Linked DNA regions of Homo sapiens: region 1 is linked to region 2. Evidence: promoter capture Hi-C in human tissues and cell types (Jung and others, 2019). All regions are on one chromosome and are shown on one strand. Each heading gives the region's core, a stretch centred on a gene start or on the middle of the fragment in contact. The rest is flanking DNA. Distances are from core to core; before and after follow the strand shown.

Region 1 (3,549 bases), core at 918-3,417, 410 kb before region 2:
CAGACCAGCCTGGCTGACATGGTGAAACCCCATCTCTACTAATACAAAAATTAGCCAGGCGTGGTGGCGCGTGCCTGTAATCTCAGCTGCTAGGGAGGCTGAGGCATGAGAATCACTTGAACCTGGGAGGCAGAGGTTGCAGTGAGCCAAGATCGCACCATTACACTCCAGCCTGGGCGACAGAGTGAGACTCCATCTCGAAACAAAACAAAACAAAAAAAGCAGTTTTTTTTTTTTTTTTAACATATAGACAGAAGGTTACCAGAGGCTGGGAAGGGTCGTCGGCGGGATGGATGGGGGAGGTGGGGATGGTTAATGGGTACAATACTCAACACAAATAGAAAGAATGAATAAGACATACTATTTGATAGCACAACAGGATGACTATTGTTAATAATAATAGTACATTTCAAAATAGCTAAATGAATGTAATTGGATTGTTTGTCACACAAAGGATAAGTTCTTAAGGGGATGGCGACTTCATTCTCCACAATGTGATTATTTCTCATTGCATGCCTGTATCAAATATCTTGTGAACCCCATACATATATACAGCTACCATGTACCCGCACAATTAAAAATTAAAAATTTAAAAATAAACTATATTCGTGATGGCAAAATAATAATAATAATATAGGGATGGCGAGATCTTGTTTAAAAGTTACTGAGGCTGGGCGTGGTGGCTCAGGCCTGTAATCCCAACACTTTGGGAGGCCGAGGTGGGAGAATCACTTGAACTCAGGAGTTTGATACCAGCCTGGGCAACATAGAGAGACCCTTATCTCCAAAAAAAAAAAAAAAAAAAAAAAATTACTAACCAGGGAGCGCTAGGGTTGCTGGAGGAGGGGTGTATCAAAGTTTTTTTTTCTGTGACTAGTATTGGGTTTTAAGTCTCTGTAGGCCAGTCTGCTGGGCAATTTAGAAACTGAACCGGGACAGAGAGGACAAATTGGAACCTACAAGAACAATCTAGGCCAGGTGCGGTGGCTCACTCCTGCAATCCCAGCATTTTTGGAGATTGAGGCAGGCGGATCATTTGAAGTCAGGAGTTCGAGACCAGCCTGGCCAACATGGTGAAACCCCATCTCTATGAAAATACAAAAATTAGCTGGGCATGATGGCGGGTGCCTGTAATCCCAGCTACTCAGGAGGCTGAGGCCGGAGAATCGCTTGAACCCGGGAGGTGGAGGTTGCAGTGAGCAGAGATGGCACCATTGCATTCCAGCCTGAGCAACAGAGCGAGATTCCGTCTCAAAAAAAAAAAAAAAAAAAAAAAAAAATTAGAATCCTTGAAGACAAACTGGAACCCCCGCCCCCAACCAACGTCTCTTTTCCCACCTTCAACCTCAATTCCACGCTTGACCTGCAGGGGAAGCTGGTGCCTTTTGCCCCCACAGAGCTGCTCCGGTGCTGGCCCCAAGTTCACCGACGCTGAAAAGGAGACCGGCAGGAGCAGGTGGAGTCCCAGAGGCTGCCCCAAGCCAATAAGGTGAGCCCACAGACCAGTCATGAAATGCATGAGCCATGTGGCACCCTGTGCAGACCTTCTCACAGCACCAGCCGCTGTGTAAATCTAATGCACATTTCTCTTTTAGACGACTCTAACCAACAGCCACCTGCAGAAAGCTATTCTAGGACACACAAGCCCAGCTTAGCTAAACTGGCACTGAACAAAATCAACATACAGCCCAGAGAGGGAACTGTCATCCAGAAACTTCACGACAGAACAGGAACTAAGCCGCGTGACACAATATGGGACCCCTTTCTCAGGGAACTCCATGGTATTGTATAATGTTAAATCTGTGCGCCCAGGAGTCAGGGTGCTGAGGCGGGAAGTCTAGCTTTGCCATTCACTAGCTGTGTGACCTTAGGTAAGTGAATTAACCTCTCTGATCTTCGGTTTTCCTGACTATAAAACCGGAGGCATCAGGCCGGGCGCGGTGGCTCACGCCTGTAATCCCAGCACTTTGAGAGGCCAAGACGTGCAGATCACGAGGTCAGGAGATCGAGACCATCCTGGCTAACACGGTAAAACCCCGTCTCTACTAAAAATACAAAAAAATTAGCCGGGCCTAGTGGTGGGCGCCTGTAGTCCCAGCTACTCGGGAGGCTGAGGCAGAAGAATGGCGTGAACCCGGGAGGCGGAGCTTGCAGTGAGCCGAGATCGTGCCATTGTACTCTAGCCTGGGCAACAAGAGCAAAACTCCATCTCAGGAAAAAAAAAAATCTAGTATTGATGAGCATGTGGCGAAACTGGATTTTTTTTTTTTACACTGTTTGGTGGGAGAATAAAATGGTACGACCAGTTTGGGAAACTTGTAGAATCTGCTAAGGCATTTGTTCAGGCTTAAAACTAATGGATATGTACATATATGTTCACCAAGAAACATAGACCACGTAATATGTGATTCCATTTATGTAAAATACAAAAACAGGCAAAACTAACCTATGCTGTTGAAAGTCAAGATAGTGGCTTCCCTTAAGAGGATATAGTGATTTGGAGAAAGCACAGGATATCCTCTGGGAATGCTATGATGTTCATTTACTGATTTGGGTGCTGGTTACACCATGTGTTCAGTTAATGGATTTTCATTTATAATTCGTGCACTTCTGACTACGTGTAAAAACAAAGTTTCAGGGGATGTCGGTTTCAGGTGTTGTTTGATCCTGAGGCATATGATGTCTTCCTGACTATGGCCTGGTTTCTGGTTGTTCCCTCAACTCTGCCTTCCTCTAGATGCAAAGTTCATCCTCAAAGTGTTTATTGGCTGGACGCGGTGGTTCATGCCTGTAAGCCCAGCACTTTGGGAGGCCGGGGCAGGTGGATCACTTGAGGTCAGGAGTTTGAGACCAGCCTGGACAACATGGTGAAACCCTGTCTCTACTAAAAACACAAAAAGTTAGCCGGGCGTGGTGGCGGGCGCCTGTAATCTCAGCTGTTTTACAGGCTGGGGCAGGAGAATTGCTTGAACCTGAGAGGTTGAGGTTGCAGTGAGTCGAGATCGCGCCACTGCACTCCAGCCTGGGCGACAGAGCAAGACTCTGTCTGAAAGAAAGAAGGAAAGAAAGAAAAAAGAAGGAAGGAAGGAAGGAAGGAAGGAAGGAAGGAAGGAAGGAAGGAAGAGAGTTTGTCATGCTTCCAAGACAGCCTCCTGTAGCTCCTATACTTAGTCTTTCACGTCTAGGAGGAAAGAGAGAGTCTTCCTCCGCTTACCAGTTGCAGAAATCCTTACCTTCATTCTGACTGGACTTACTGAGTTCACGTGTCTAACCTTTAACCAATCTCAGAGAAGAGGGGCATATTAAGCACTAATTGCTTTTTGTCCAGGTTACCTGGGTGACCATTTCTGAACCAATCACTGTGGGAAGGAGGGTGAGATTATGCTAATTGGTTCAAGCCAATCAGGGCTTATCCCTGGAACTGGGGGTATAAAGGGTGTCGACCTAACCCAAATGTTTTGGCTTTATTAATGGGGACTGGGGAGGAGAGGAATAGACATTGTGGATGTCATCACATGGGGGAGACATTTCTTATTTATTTTTAAACAT
Region 2 (3,483 bases), core at 795-3,294:
AATACCCAGTCTCCTGAGTGGGTATAAAAATGCCAAAGGAGCTGTCACTTTATACTTATAAATTTAAGAAGTGATAACACTGGCCAGGCAAGGTGGCTCATGCCTGTAATCCCAGCACTTTGGGAGGCTGAGGTGGGTGGATCACCTGAGCTCAGGAGTTCGAGATCAGCTTGGCCAACATGGCGAAACCCCATCTCTACTACAAATACAAAAATTAGCCAGGTGTGGTGGCACATGCCTGTAATCCCAGCTACCTGGGAGGCTGAGGCAGGAGAATGGCTTGAACCCAGGAGGTGGAGGTTTACAGTGAGACAAGATCGTGCCACTGCATTCCAGCCTGAGTGACAGAGCGAGACTCTGACTCAAAAAAAAAAAAAAAAAAGTGATAACACCCACTTCTGGGGTCGGGGTGAGGAGGCTCCAAAACATTACTGGTGAAAAATATGAATTATTAATGGCTTTTTGGGGAAAATGATCTGGTAATATTAATTAAATATGTATACTCATTGACCTAATAACTCTGTGTTTATAATTTACTTATAAATGCACCAGTGCATAGGGATATATGTCTGAAAATATTTTGCGTAGTGTGGAGAAAATACTGGAAAACCTTCAAAAACTAAAAGATCCACAATGCTGAACTGATACTATAGCATATTGTGCAACTATTATAAAGAATAAATTAGAATTAGATGTACTGCCCTGGTGAGATGCCCATGAAATATTAGGTGACAAAAGGTAAATTGATGCACATGGTTTTGATTTTTTTTTTTAATGTCCTTATATAAGTTTGTAGGGAGGAGAATACGGTTTATAACTCTGCAGGCAGAAAGCCTGTAGCCAAACCCTGGCTTCATCACCTCCTGTATGTGATCATCCCCCCGGGCCTCAGTTCCGTCAACTGTAAGAGGGGTTAATAATAACATGGATCTGGCAAGCTTGTCGTTGAGTATATGATAATTTCTGAAAAGTGCTACAGATGCCTGGTGCACAATTCAGTAACAGCATGAGTACAATGTATATGAGAAGGCAGAACACAGAAGATGAAAACACACCACACAGGTCAGGCACGGTGGCTCATGCCTATAGTAATCCCAGCACTCTGGAACACTGGCAGGTGGCTCACCTGAGGTCAGGAGTTCGACACCAGCCAGGCCAACATGGCAAAACCCCGTCTCTACCAAAAATATAAAAATTAGCTGGGCGTGGTGGTGTGCACTTGTAATCCCAGCTACTCAGGAGGCTGAGGCAGGAGAATCACTTGAAGCCAGGAGGCGGAGGTTGCAGTGGCCCAAGATCGCACCATTGCACTCCAGCCTGGGTGACAAGAGCAAAACTCCATCTCAAAAAAAAAAAAAAAAAAAAAGGAAAATATTATTTATAAAATAGAAAATTAAAAAAAAAATTTTAAATACACATTTTTAAAAACCACTTGCAGGCTCTCACACACTGCATATCCAGGATTCACATGCAGGCAGCCTGGCTCTAGACGCGGGGCTCCAGTGCCTCCGGTGTCTCAGCCCGTGACTTCCCTGCTCTCAACCTCAGTTTACTCCACTGTGAAATGGACTTCCAGATACTCACCTCTTGAGTTTGCTGCAAGCGTAAATGGCATCAGGCTTGGACCTGGGGGAAGGAAGTGTTTTTAAAATGGGTAGCTTTGTTACCTCAGTCCTTGCGGGGAGAAGATGTGCCAATGCCCCGGGCCTCTGCGATGTAAGTTCCTGTTGAGTTGTTCAATGTTCCACTGAGAGGAGAGACAAGCAGGACCGGGATCCCGGCCCCGGGTCTTCCAGAAACGGCGGGGCGAAGCGCCCAGGGGCCTGTGCGTCCCTCCCTGCTGAGCGAGGGGGCCTGTCATTGCCGTGGGCGTGACCCAGACCCCAACCACAGTGCATCCCGCCCTGGCCCAGCCAGAGAAGGAAGCTGAGTCTGGGGTCTGCTGGGCCAGCAGGAAGTCCCAGCAGGGTGTGAAGCAAGACTTTCCGGGCCACTCCTGGAATCCCCCAGCAGATAAAGGCGGCCCCTCCACCGGGCGCTCCTAGCGGTCTCCCGGACCCTGCCGCCCTGCCACTATGTCCCGCCGCTCTATGCTGCTTGCCTGGGCTCTCCCCAGCCTCCTTCGACTCGGAGCGGCTCAGGAGACAGAAGACCCGGCCTGCTGCAGCCCCATAGTGCCCCGGAACGAGTGGAAGGCCCTGGCATCAGAGTGCGCCCAGCACCTGAGCCTGCCCTTACGCTATGTGGTGGTATCGCACACGGCGGGCAGCAGCTGCAACACCCCCGCCTCGTGCCAGCAGCAGGCCCGGAATGTGCAGCACTACCACATGAAGACACTGGGCTGGTGCGACGTGGGCTACAAGTGAGTGTGGCAGGGGGGCACGGGCTGGACTGGGGATCCCAGAGGCAAAGGTGTGCAAGTGCCCGCCAGCGGGACCATTTCTAGGCCTGGTGCTGAGGCCACCTGGCTGACACCCTGAGCAGCTTACTGAACCTCACAAGGTCATTTCTTCCTCGGGTCACCACGTGGGCCGGGGCAGGTGCTCACAGCACAAAGATGCGTGAGAAGGGGGGATGGGCTGAAATCCAAGCCCCGCTCCCGCTCCCGGGAAGAAGGGGCAGGCTTTGCCTAACACACACCAAGGTGTCCGCGACGCCTTATGAAGGCGCCCCTTCCTGATGCCTGGTGCCTTTGTTAGGAGGCGGAAAACCAGGCTGACTCAGTGCGGAGCTGGGTTCCAGGGTCAGCTCATCTTATTGCTGGCTGAGGCCTGGGGCGGGTCCTCCCGGCTTCAGCTTCCTCCTCGGCAAAGTCAATGGAATCGCGGCCCATCTGCTCCTTATATGAGCCAATACAGGCAAAGCACCTAGGAACTGCCTGGCACACGGGGGCCCGCAAAGCCACGGGCTATTACCATTAGGCACCTACTATGTGCCAGGCAGTGTGCCAGATGTGGCATGGAGAACGGTGCCACTCTAGCCTCCTGGGGTTGAAAGACCAGCAGGGAGAAACAAGCCAAGGCCACAGGTGAATTCAGACGGTGATAGAGGCGATGGATAAAAGGAAAGAGGTGAGGGAGGGTGACCTCAGGCTGGGACCAGACCCACACAGGCTCCTTGGAAGGGTGGGGCAAGGGAAAGCCTCCCTGAGAGTGGCTGCCTTGGCTCTGGGATGGGGGAGCAGACAGAGGCCTGCAGGTGGCAGGGGGTGCTGGGGGCAAAGCCAACGGGGTTGAGTGGGCGGGTCCTGTGGGAAGGACAGGGTGGCTGAACACAGCCGGGCGAGCGGAATGAAATGAGGAAAGGGCAGGACCAGGCAGGGCTTTGTGGACCACAGTGAGGACTGTAGCTTTTACTCCGAGATGGGAGCCATGGGAGGCTTCCCCCCGCAGAGCAGGGACCAGGGCTAGTGTAGGTACAAGAGACTCCCTCTGGCTGCTGTGGGGAGAACAGACTGTAAGGGGTGCCGGCTGAAGCAGGCTG

The links. The method cuts DNA at HindIII sites, captures the fragments that hold promoters and counts their contacts. A contact is called where the count stands out against the background at its distance.
Region 1: a contact is called between a fragment that was not itself captured here and the fragment with the promoter of PGLYRP1 in region 2, in 1 of the 25 tissues and cell types used here (aorta).

Annotation. Positions count from the first base shown.
Region 1 is chr19:46,429,916-46,433,464 of GRCh38, reverse strand. No RefSeq gene overlaps it. Among named protein-coding and RNA genes, the nearest start is that of PNMA8C, 2.8 kb to the right of the region's middle. The HindIII fragment of the contact is 8,299 bases long and covers 1-3,549 here.
Region 2 is chr19:46,021,614-46,025,096 of GRCh38, reverse strand. PGLYRP1 (peptidoglycan recognition protein 1) reads left to right here and starts at 2,044. Exons shown (of 3, transcript NM_005091.3): 1 at 2,044-2,362. The coding sequence starts at 2,076. RefSeq lists an enhancer at 2,551-3,436. The HindIII fragment of the contact is 20,258 bases long and covers 1-3,483 here.